4 separate regions of the Homo sapiens genome follow, and regions 1, 3 and 4 are each linked to region 2. The links are contacts of gene promoters, found by promoter capture Hi-C in blood cells and fetal thymus (Javierre and others, 2016). All regions are on one chromosome and are shown on one strand. Each heading gives the region's core, a stretch centred on a gene start or on the middle of the fragment in contact. The rest is flanking DNA. Distances are from core to core; before and after follow the strand shown.

Region 1 (2,700 bases), core at 201-2,700, 510 kb before region 2:
AGGCTGAGGTAGCAGGATTGCTTAAGCCCAGGAGTTTGAGGCTGCAGTAAGCTATGATCATGCCACTGCACTCCAGCCTGGCCTACAGAGGGAGACCCTGTCTCAAAAAATAAAACAACCTTTAAAGACATAAAATTTTCAAAGCAAAAGAACAAAATATAGAAAGTACCTCAGGTAAGATCATAAATAATGCTTTAAGAATAAATAGCCCGATAGAAAAATGTTTCTTCTATTGTTCTAGAAGAATTTGAAATGGTTTTCTTACCTCTCATTTGAACTGCCTAAAAGTTCAGAGCTATACACCTAAAGCCTTACAGAACAAAAGTCACAAAGATATAAGGAGCTTGCGACCAGTGACTAAAGGCCAATTACTAAAGGAAACACTGGAAACTTAGATAACACTAGGGCGCGCTAATTGCTCAATTATACTCACGTGAAATAAATTTTTTTTAAAGAAAATCATTGGACATGTGTTTGGGGGAGGAAGGAGGCGCTCTCCTTAGAAATGCAGCTCCAGACATCAATCACAACAATATCCCCTCATGAGGAGAGGAAACTCTCAGGTGTGCACTTCGCACTTGCTGGGTCTCTGAAGAATGCTCACTCTCACTTTTCCCACCTTTTCTAGCCGGCCCGTAGGTGACAGTGTTGACGGCACTGAACACAAACACTAGGATATGAGCACAAGAGTCCCTGATACACGTAGGATGAACTAGCGGGCAGTTCAGTAAAGACAGGCTGATGTGGGCGGACAGGAGTTACACAGCAAAAGGCAAAAGAAGGTAGACGCTAGAGAAGGCACTGTAAGGAAAAGCACTTGGAACCTTAAGAAGGAAAGCCATCTTCCTAAGGGGAGCAGTAGACATGACAGTCTGGGGATACAACGTGCGCCCTTCAAGAAAGGCGAGGAGTGGCTAAGGAAAAAAGGGGCTGTTCAACGTAACTGGGAAGAGGGAGTGAGAGCTCTGCAGGCAGGGTGGGGAAAATCTCACGGCGAGGCCCCGGGAAAATTGAGGGGAGCGACTAGGAACATCCTGGGGTTCAGGGATGAGAACTTGGGATATCACCGAAGGGGCGGGACAGAGAGGAAATCAAAGAGCAAGGCTTGGTCAAAAAGGTCAGAGGAGTGGAGGTGGGAGAGGGAAGAATGACCCTGAAGATTCAAGGTGATGGGCGGGAGACTGAGGGGAAATCGAGGCTCTTACCCGCGCCGCTCCCGGGCCTGTGAAAGCCCATGATCCGGTTGATGCGCTGTTCCGAGTTCATGAGCAGCTTTCTCCGACGCAGCTCCGCCCGACGCTGGGAAGCCGACAGACCTGAGCCCGCTGGGACCCCCGGCCTCTCCCCGCCGTCGGTAGCGACGGCCATCGACTCCATCCTCCCGTCCACAGTCTGGGAGGGGTGGCAGTGGCGGTGATGTTGGCCGCCGCTGCGAGGGCGATGACTAGAGGCCGGGCCGCAGGGCGCGCGTCCCCTTCCCACTATAGACCCGCCCCCGAGCGCGGTCCCGGAGCCTGTGAGCTAAGCACTCACGCACCGCCCCACGCGACCAAGCGCGAGGCTCTGGCCGCCATCTTGAGTGAGGGCAGCGCTGGACGCCCTCGTGCCTCCCCAACTCTTCTGGCCCTCACCCAACAGCCCCCTCTGCTGTTCACTCGGAGGTGAAGAAAACCAGCACCCAGGGCCGGGAGTGGTGGCTCACGCCTGTAATCCTAGCACTTTGGAAGGCCGAGGCGGGCGGATCACGAGGTCACGATTTCGAGAGTAGCCTGGCCAACATGGTGACCCCCTCCCCCCTCCCCCCACCCGTCTCTACTAAAAATACAAAAACTTAGCCGGGCGGGGTGGCGCGCGCCTGTAATCCCAGCTACTCGGGAGGCTGAGGCAGGAGAATCTCTTGGACCCAGGAGGCGGAGGTTGCAGTGAGCCGAGATCGCGCCACTGTTCTCCAGCCTGGGCTACAGAGCGAGACTCTGTCTCGAGAAAAAAAAAAAGAAAGAAAAGAAAACCGGGAGTGGGAAAGGGATGGCAGTAAGTAGGTCAGCCTAGATTTGGTGCCAGGAAGCAAAATGGAGGTTGCAGCGGCAGTCGCTTGTTTACAGACCCGCGGCCTCGCCTGTAGGCAATGGGAATACGTAACCCTGGGAGCCGCACTTAAAGGGAGCCTTACGCTGGGATTTGTTCTTGGTGCCTGTTCCTCATCCTTAACTTCTCTACGGCAAAGTATACGGCTGATGTGTTCCTAGGCTTTCCTCGCGTTTTGTGCGTTTTTATTCAAATTAGAATTTCCCATTGAAACCTTTCGTGCACATTCTATCTAAATTGCCAACACTCCCCATTCCCCTTCACCTTGTTTTTTCTCCTTGTCGTTCATGACCACCTCGCATGCTAAAGATGCTCCAGCCTGGGCGACAGAACGAGACTCCGTCTCAAAAAAAAAAAAGGAAAAGAAAAGAAAAAAACAAAAAGGCCGGGAGCGGTGGCTCACGTCTGTAATCCTAACTTTGGGAGGCCGAGGCAGGCGGATCACCTGAGGTCAGGAGTTCGAGACCAGCCTGGCCAATATGGCAAAACCCCGTCTCTACTAAAAATACAAAAATTAGCCTGACCTGGTGGCATGCACCTGTAATCCCAGCTACTTGGGAGGCTGAGGCAGGAGAATCGCTTGAACCTGGGAGGCAGAAATTGCAGTGAGCCGAG
Region 2 (2,732 bases), core at 75-2,574:
TGAGCACTTGGGTGTGGAAGGGTTGCCTGATACTGAGGGTGGGGTTCCTGGAAGACAGGCGATCAGGTTCAGCTCTTGCCTTGCCCTTTATGGTTAAATGTTCTTTGGAAAGCTTCTATATCTTTCAAATCCTGGGGGCATTATGATCTCTCTTCTGCCTATCCCAAACCATCTTCAGCCAGTACTGTTGGGAGAATACAAGCTCCAGGGCATGGTCCCTGGTCCGTCTGGATGACCCCTCCGGATCTGGCATATAGCTGGCGCTCTATGGAACCAGATATTTATGTAAAAGCAGGGACAATGGAATGTGAAAACGTTTCGCAAACTCCAAAGCGATTCATAACCAGACAGAGGTCCAATCCTAGGGTATACGAGCTCTCTCTTTTAAGCACGTATCACAGCTGCTTCTCACGCCACCGAGACGCGGTCAGGACAGGTGCATCCATCTTCTCTGGGCTTCCCCTCTTGAAAGTAGGCCAGGGCGCGCAGGGGTTGAGGGTCTCTCATTCCCAGAGAGAATTAAACTTGGAGGAAAGCAACCACCGGCGAGGAGCGGGGCGCGTGGAAGCGAGCCGCGGTCCGAGGCCCAAAGAAAAGCCCAAGCCTCGCCCCCGCCATCGCGCCCGACGAGACACCTAGGTCCGGGGACGGGTGTGTGCCGCGGAAGTCAGGTGCACTGCGCAGCACTCCCCCGGTAGGTACACGCTCCTCCACCTACGAGTGACCTAATTACAAGGTGCCAGCCGCGCCCAGAGGTGGGGGTGGTTAATCCAAGCGGCCACTCGCTGCCCGTTCCTGCCCCCAAAGATGACGGAAACCCACACGATTACAGAGCCGCAGCACCCCAGATGAGCCACGGGGTCGCAATTCTCGTTTCCGTGATCGGACTGCCAGGCCCCAGGTGAGGAGCTGAGTTCATCACCAGAGCGGCCTTCCCAGGGGAACCAGTTACAGGCTGCCAGTGGCCCCGGCTTCCATCCGGTCTGCGCCTGCGCGCGGCCCAAGCCCTCGCCTCTCCTGGAATAGTGCTCAGGGATTAGTCCGGTTCGCCGCTGTGCGCACTGCGCATGCTCCAGCTCCATCCTTCCCTTCCCCCACCACCCCGCCCTCCGGGAGCCACGCCCAAAAAGTCAAGGCGCTTCAGTTACCAGCCGGCTACGTCGCGCCTGCGCTTTGACCCCCAGTTTGCGCCCCAACTCCGGTCGTGCGGCCGCCCGGGGAGGGCTCTGCAGTTGCGCAGCTTGCTCCCCGGCCCTTTTCCCCTCCGCTCCCCGCCGCCTCCTGACGCCGGGCGTGACGTCACCACGCCCGGCGGCCGCCATTACAGAGAGCCGAGCTCTGGAGCCTCAGCGAGCGGAGGAGGAGGCGCAGCGGCCGACGGCCGAGTACTGCGGTGAGAGCCAGCGGGCCAGCGCCAGCCTCAACAGCCGCCAGAAGTACACGAGGAACCGGCGGCGGCGTGTGCGTGTAGGCCCGTGTGCGGGCGGCGGCGCGGGAGCAGCGCGGAGCGGCAGCCGGCTGGGGCGGGTGGCATCATGGACGAGAAGGTGTTCACCAAGGAGCTGGACCAGTGGATCGAGCAGCTGAACGAGTGCAAGCAGCTGTCCGAGTCCCAGGTCAAGAGCCTCTGCGAGAAGGTGAGCTGTAGTACGGCTGCGGACAGCCGCCGCGGGGCCGAGCCCGCCGAGGAAAAGGCGGCCGTGAGGAGGGTGCAACATGGCGGAGGCCGCCGGTCCGGGCCCCCCGAGTCTCCGAGACCGGCGCCCATCCTGGCCGGCGGCGGCTTCCTAACGACCCGGCGCCCCCTGCCTCCCGCGCAGGGATTGGTTGCCGCCGCCGCCTAAAATGGCGCCGTTCACTCGACTCCTGGGCTTTTGAGTCAGCCGGCCTTGGCGCCAGACGAGGTGGCAGGGGGAGCGGAGACCCTGTGGGTCATCGTCAGGGACGGTTTTGAGGGTGAGCTGGCTTGGATTCTGCGGCTTGGGAATGGAGCCTGGGCCTCTCCGGTGGGCTGAGTAAGAGTCTTGCCGCTGGTACCCAGGCCTAGTTAGGTCCAGAGCTGCCCAGAGGATCCCCCAAAGGCAGTCTTGTTAGGCCGTATCCCAGAACATACCTAAAGGTCACACAGCTTTAGTACCCCTTGGTGGTTTGTATTAAACTCACCAAGCGATCTTCTCCAGAAATCAAGGTAAGGGGTGTCTTTAAGAATTTTTAAATTATTCTCTTAACCTAATTTTTACGAAGGTCATGGTGGTAGCTATAAGGGAGGAGTGTAACTTATTTTTCATAGTTGGAAGAAATCGGGAATTTGGTGAGTCATACTACATAAGGAGCTTTTGGATTGGAAATCAAGTGTCGGTTGAATATGATTTATATGCTGACTCAAAGCCTTCTCTAAGCTTAACACACTTGGCATTTTGCCGTTTATTTTTAAAATGAACAACATAAAATGGAAGAGCGGTAAATTTTGTATCTTTGTTGCAAAAATTACTTGATAGTATTTTGTGGCTGCAAGTAGTAGTAGTGATAATAACTGTCGACTGAGATTGTATTCCAGACATTGTGCTTAGTGTTTAAATAATGTCTCACATACACTGAAAATAGAATGTTGTAGTCCACTTAGTAACACTAAACTTTATATTAGCTAATTCCCTTTTGTTTTCCCCTGGGGGTTGGGGAAACAGGTAGTTAATTTAGCTATTAGCTTTGTGTTGTATTTTTAAATTCTTGTA
Region 3 (2,723 bases), core at 99-2,598, 680 kb before region 2:
TCCAAAGGATTACCAAACTAACTGAACAAACAAAATAGTCAAAAGCATTTACCTTTTACAAATGCAGTGGTGTAATAACTGAAGGTTAAGTCATGGGAGATGACTCTCTAAACAGGGTGGGTCCCTAATGGAACAGTTACCTTGTTAAAGCTGACTTCCAAGGGGGAGGTCAGGTTTTAAGAAAAGGTTCAGGATCTGGCTACTGGGCTGGAGAAAAATAAGCCAGTCAGGGAAAAGGGTGCAGCCTGGGAGATGACTGAGAGATAGAAATTTAACTGCAGGAAGAAAGAAAAATTACCAACGGCCCAGAAAAAGTCAGGGAAAATAAGTCAAGCAGGTACATCTTCCTCAACCAGTTTTATTCATGCCCCTTTCTGATAAGTATAAAAAGCTCAGGCTGGGCACAGTGGCTCATATCTCTATTCCCAGCACATTGGGAGGCCAAGGCAGGAGGATCGCTTGAGGCCAGGAATTTGAGACCAGTCTGGGCAACATAGCCAGACCCTGCCTCTCCAAACAATGCAAAAATTAGCTGGGCATGGCACATGCCTGTAGTCCCAGCTACTCAGGAGGCTAAGGTGGGAGGATCACCTGAGCCCAGGAGGTCGAGGCAGCAGTAAGCCACAATCATACCACTGTACTCCAGCCTGGGCAACAGAGCAAGACCCTGTCTCAAAAAATAATAATCAATAATAAAAGGCTTACACTCTCTTTTAATGTTATTTGAAATTTCAAAAGAAACTACATATCCTAACCAACACCATACCAAAGCAATAGTGGTTTCAGAATTTGTTTTCCAAGTAACACAAACCACCCTCTTCCCCCAGAGCTAAACACCACCCAGGTGGGTGGTAGCAACTGTCAACAAGGATGTCACTCTATCACTGAATTCTTAAAGAAGGGAAGAGTTGAATCCTAGATCTACATGGGACCAGACAACTGGCAGAATCAGAAAGTGTTATGGCCTAAGGTGACTAAAATAGACCACAGCCCTAGCAAGAATTTATAACAATTACCTGATTAAAATTGTGGAAGGAGAATTCTTTGTAGATGGCATCTCTCTCACTTAATTCCGACCATCCTGCTGCTTTAAGGTCAAGTATAGCTTGGTTCCTCTCCTCTGCAGTCAACCTGTGAGTACCTGATGACTATGAAGAGAACACATTTCATATCTGAAAATGTACAAGTTTACTCAAACTCAAACTTATGGCTCCTTACCTTAAGCAGAGATGTAGAAAAGTCTGAAAGGCAACAAATTCTAACCATCTTTCATTCCTTTGTTCTCTTAAAGAGACCAAAGCAAGGCTAGCTCTGTGCAAAATAAGCTGCCTCCATGGCATGTCACCTCTGGCTCCCTTACTGCTGCCTCAAACTTCACAATTCAGCTTCTCTGGTTGGTTGGTTGGTTGTTTCGAGACAGGGTCTCGCTCTGTCGCCCAGGCTGGAGCGTAGTGGTGCAATCACAGCTCACTGCAACCTCCGCCTCCTGGGCTCAAATGATCCTCCCACCTCAGCCTCCCAAGTAGCTGGGACTACAGGTGCACACCACCACACCCAACTAATTTTTTGTATTTTTGGTAGAGAGGGATTTTCACCATGTTGCTCAGGCTGGCCTTGAATTCCTGAGCTCAAGTGATCTGCCCACCTGGACCTCCCAAAGTGCTGGAATTACAGGCATGAGTGACTGCGCCCGGCCCTTCTGTGGTTTATTACAGATACAACAAAGATTGACTATTACCACCGGCCATCTTGGACACTGCAGAATTCTAGGACTTGTGGCAAGTCTATTGGCAGGACCAGAATTAAAATTCAAGGCTCCAAACTCCTGGTCTATTGCTCTTTGGATGGCCCTACATCACCTCAGTAGCCTTCACTACTCTCTGTTATATCTCTAATAAGCCAGAGAAGCTGAACTGTGACGTTTGAGGCAGCAGTAAGGGGGCCAGAGGGAACATACCATAGAGACAGCTTATTTTGTACAGAGCCAGCCTTGTTTTGGTCTGTCTTTTGAGAACAAAGGAATGAAAGATGGTTTTAACTATTTGGAATTACCATCTCCTGTCACATCTAATGAAAACCAATCCCCGGATGGGGAAAAACAAATGCACATTTACATAGGATTTTATCTAACTTCTGGGGGTCCACAGATCCTCTGGACTACAGGTAAAAAGCCCTGGCCTCAGTGGGGTGGGTTTATGAAGCCCTCTTCTCAGAGCACCAGTCAGACAAACTCTCTCCATAGTTTGGCCAGAGTACTGCCCAGTCCAAAGCACTTGTGTGCACTGTCTGGCCTGTTTCTACGCATCCTGGGGATGACATTCACAAAGCCAGGTTCTGTTGGTTAACAGGCCCACACTTCCCATGCTATTGGTTTTTTAACTGAAATAACTTTAAACATCAGGGCCAGAGAGAAGATATGGACACTTGACTAGAAGTCAGGAAAGCAGGGTTCTCATTCCAGGCAATACTTCTTGCCTTACCTACTTGCAGAGTTACTGTAGGCTCAGGTGAGAGAGAGGCTGTCACCCAGAAAGATGAACATTAGTGAAGGCTCCTCATCAAAGGGCAACTGTGGGCTAAGCTGCATTCCCTGGATTCTCTGCCATTAAGCTGCAACTCACTCCCACTTCAGAAATCCCAAAATCATTTATCACTAATATTAAGAGAGGAAAAAGATTTTACCTTTAGACAACTTTTTCTATGAAGAAAAAAATACTAATAAA
Region 4 (2,773 bases), core at 205-2,704, 590 kb before region 2:
ACCAGAAAAGGCTTATTCCCTTATTCCTTTGAATCAAGAAAGGAAACAAATGCAGGTTGTTTCCCCATCAAGGCAAGCGCAATGATGAATGCTTTGCTTTGACAGGAGTCACATGAGCCCTACTGCTAGGTGCATTTCTTTTTTTTTTTTTTTTTTTTTTTTTTGAGACAGAGTCTCGCTCTGTCTCCCAGGCTGGAGTGCAATGGCGCCATCTCAGCTCACTGCAAGATCCGCCTCCCAGGTTCACGCCATTCTTCTGCCTCAGCCTCCTGAGTAGCTGGGACTACAGGTGCCCGCCACCACACCTGGCTAATTTTTTGTATTTTTAGTTGAGATGGGGTTTCACCGTGTTAGGCAGGATGGTCTCATCTCCTGACCTCGTGATCCGCCCACCTTGGCCTCCCAAAGCACTGGGATTACAGGCATGAGCCACCACCGCCAGCCTGCTATGTGCATTTCTTTTAAAAAATGCCCTTTGCCCAACAGTGACTACTGATATCACTGATTACAGAAATACAAGCCCCCTTCAGAAATTTAGATCAGATTAATAAAGCTGTATCTTCTAGATCTCAAATGCACAGAAAAGCTTATTTAGGGCTTAAAAATTAATTGGTTAATTTACAAAGCTCTTTTACTACAATAAAAACAGTCCGTTTAGCTTTTGTATTTTTTTGAGACAGGGTCGCCTTTAACTCCCAGGCTCAAGGGTTCCTCATATCTCGGCCTCCCAAGTAGCTAGGACCACAGCGTGCACTAGCACGTCCAGCTAATTTTTAAAAACCTTTTTATAGAGATGGGGTCTCACTGTGTTGTCTAGGAGGGTCTTGAACTCCTGGGCTCAAGCTATCCTCCCACCATGGCCTTCCAAAGTGTTGGGATTACAGGCCATGAGCCACCACACCCAGCCTTAGATTCTTCTTAAAACATTTATTACCTATTAAAGGGTTTTAGTTATGGCCACGCACAGTGGCTCCTGCCTATAATCCCAGCATTTTGAGAGTTCAAGGCAGGAGGATTACTTGAGCCCAGGAGTTCAAGACCAGCCTGGGCAACATGGCGAAACCTTGTCTCTACAAAAAATATAAAAGTTACCCAGGCATGGTGGCACATGCCTGTAGTCCCAGATATTCAGAAGGCTGAGGTGGGGAATCACCTGAGCCCAGGAGGTCGAGGCTACAGTGAGCCAAGATCACGCCACTTTACTCCAGCCTGGTTGATGGAGTGAGATCCTGTCTCATAAAAACAAAACAAAACAAAACCCCAAGAAAACACCAACAGGGGGTCAGTTATCAACTAGTTTTAAAACTCAACATTTACCTGAGTAAAACCGTTTTAAATTAAATAGCATTCATGGTATTACAATCTGAACAAATTCATAAAATCAGGAAAGGGGGAAGTATACAATGCTAGCTGGTAGAGCTAACCTTACTTTTGATTTTATTCGTGTTAAGTACTGTTTACATTTTTCATAAAATTATATATTACTTTAACACCCGAAGAAACAATCACCGTATTTTATCACAAGATTTTAAAAAACAGTTAAAAATACTGCAGTTTTCCCTTTACACATGGAATACATTCCAAGAACCCCAGTGAATGCCTAAAAACAGAGATAGTACCGCACCGACATACACTGTTTTTTCCTATACATACATACCTATGATAAAGTTTAATTTATAAATTAGGTACAGTTAAGAGATTAACAACAATAAAATAGGACAATTATAGCAATATACTGTAATAAAAGTTATATGAATGTGGTCTCAAAATACTGTAATAGTTTCAGACTGTGGTTAACCTATGGCAACTAAAACCACAGAAAAGAGGAAACTACCATAATGTCAAAAAGTGACAGATGTTTTTAAAACATGGCTACAAATTATTTAATAGTCTTTTTTCTTGAGTGTGGGCTGGACTTAATGACTTCCTTCTAATAGAAGAAAGTGGGCTGGGCATGGTGGCTCATGTTTGTAATACCATCACTTTGGGAGGCTGAGGCAGGAGGATCACTTGAGCCCAGGAATTTCAGACCAACCTAGGCAACACAGTGAGACCTCGACTCTAAAAAAAAAAACATTTTAAAATATATATTAACAGGGCATGGTGGTGCACCCATAGTACCAGCTACTCAAGAGGCTGAGGTGGGAAGATCGCTGAGGCAGCAGTGAGTTGAGTTCGCACCACTACACTCCAGTTTGGGCAACAGAGTCAGACTCTGTTTCCAAAACAAAACAAAACAAGACAAAAAAAACCCCATAAAGAATAAAGTGGAAGTGACAGTGTGTAATTTCAGAGACAGTCATAAAAAGCACTAAAGCTTTCTCTTTGCTCTCTTTGATCACTCACTGTGGGGAAAGCCAGCTGCCATGTGGGTAAGGACAGGCAAAGAGGTGAAGAACTGAGGCATCCTATCTACATCAAAGTGACTGATGTTGGAAGCAGATCATCCAGCAACAGTCAAGCCTGCAGATGACTGCAATCTCACGAGCGCCTAAGCCAGAACTACCTGACTAAACTGCTCCTGATTTCCTGACCATAAGGAACTATGTGATAATAAGTGTTTATTGCTTTAACCTGCTAAGTTTTGATTTGTTACATGGTAACAGATAAATTTAAAAAATGAAATGTGGTCGGGCGTGGTGGCTCACGCCTGTAATCTGAGCACTTTGGGAGGCCGAGGCAGGCGGATCACGAAGTCAAGAGATCAAGATCATCCTGGCCAACATGGTGAAACCCTGTCTCTAGTAAAAATACAAAAAAAATTAGCCAAGCA

Evidence for each region. Contacts are between HindIII fragments. The CHiCAGO score rates a contact against its expected background, and 5 or more counts as called.
Region 1: the fragment with the promoter of CAMLG here is called in contact with the fragment with the promoter of PPP2CA in region 2 in 11 of 17 cell types (activated CD4 T cells, naive CD8 T cells, neutrophils and 8 more); the score reaches 9.8 in activated CD4 T cells.
Region 3: a contact is called between a fragment that was not itself captured here and the fragment with the promoter of PPP2CA in region 2, in 1 of 17 cell types (neutrophils). The highest score is 5.0, in neutrophils.
Region 4: a contact is called between a fragment that was not itself captured here and the fragment with the promoter of PPP2CA in region 2, in 1 of 17 cell types (fetal thymus). The highest score is 5.5, in fetal thymus.

The regions. Positions count from the first base shown.
Region 1 is chr5:134,737,298-134,739,997 of GRCh38, reverse strand. It overlaps CAMLG (calcium modulating ligand), which reads right to left and starts at 1,450. Exons shown (of 4, transcript NM_001745.4): 1 at 1,206-1,450. The coding sequence starts at 1,377. RefSeq lists an enhancer at 1,813-1,862. The HindIII fragment of the contact is 13,475 bases long and covers 1-2,700 here.
Region 2 is chr5:134,224,665-134,227,396 of GRCh38, reverse strand. It overlaps PPP2CA (protein phosphatase 2 catalytic subunit alpha), which reads left to right and starts at 1,324. Exons shown (of 7, transcript NM_002715.4): 1 at 1,324-1,637. The coding sequence starts at 1,536. MIR3661 (microRNA 3661) reads right to left here and starts at 1,640; the gene lies at 1,545-1,640. PPP2CA-DT (PPP2CA divergent transcript) reads right to left here and starts at 987. Exons shown (of 1, transcript NR_186539.1): 1 at 1-987. RefSeq lists enhancers at 24-543, 385-544, 544-1,065, 1,066-1,585, 1,925-2,034. The HindIII fragment of the contact is 2,287 bases long and covers 115-2,401 here.
Region 3 is chr5:134,908,760-134,911,482 of GRCh38, reverse strand. PCBD2 (pterin-4 alpha-carbinolamine dehydratase 2) reads right to left here. Exons shown (of 4, transcript NM_032151.5): 2 at 1,017-1,148. Among named protein-coding and RNA genes, the nearest start is that of PCBD2, 5.0 kb to the right of the region's middle. The HindIII fragment of the contact is 3,581 bases long and covers 1-2,723 here.
Region 4 is chr5:134,813,098-134,815,870 of GRCh38, reverse strand. All of the region lies in intron 18 of DDX46 (DEAD-box helicase 46), which reads right to left. Among named protein-coding and RNA genes, the nearest start is that of C5orf24, 31 kb to the left of the region's middle. The HindIII fragment of the contact is 1,731 bases long and covers 589-2,319 here.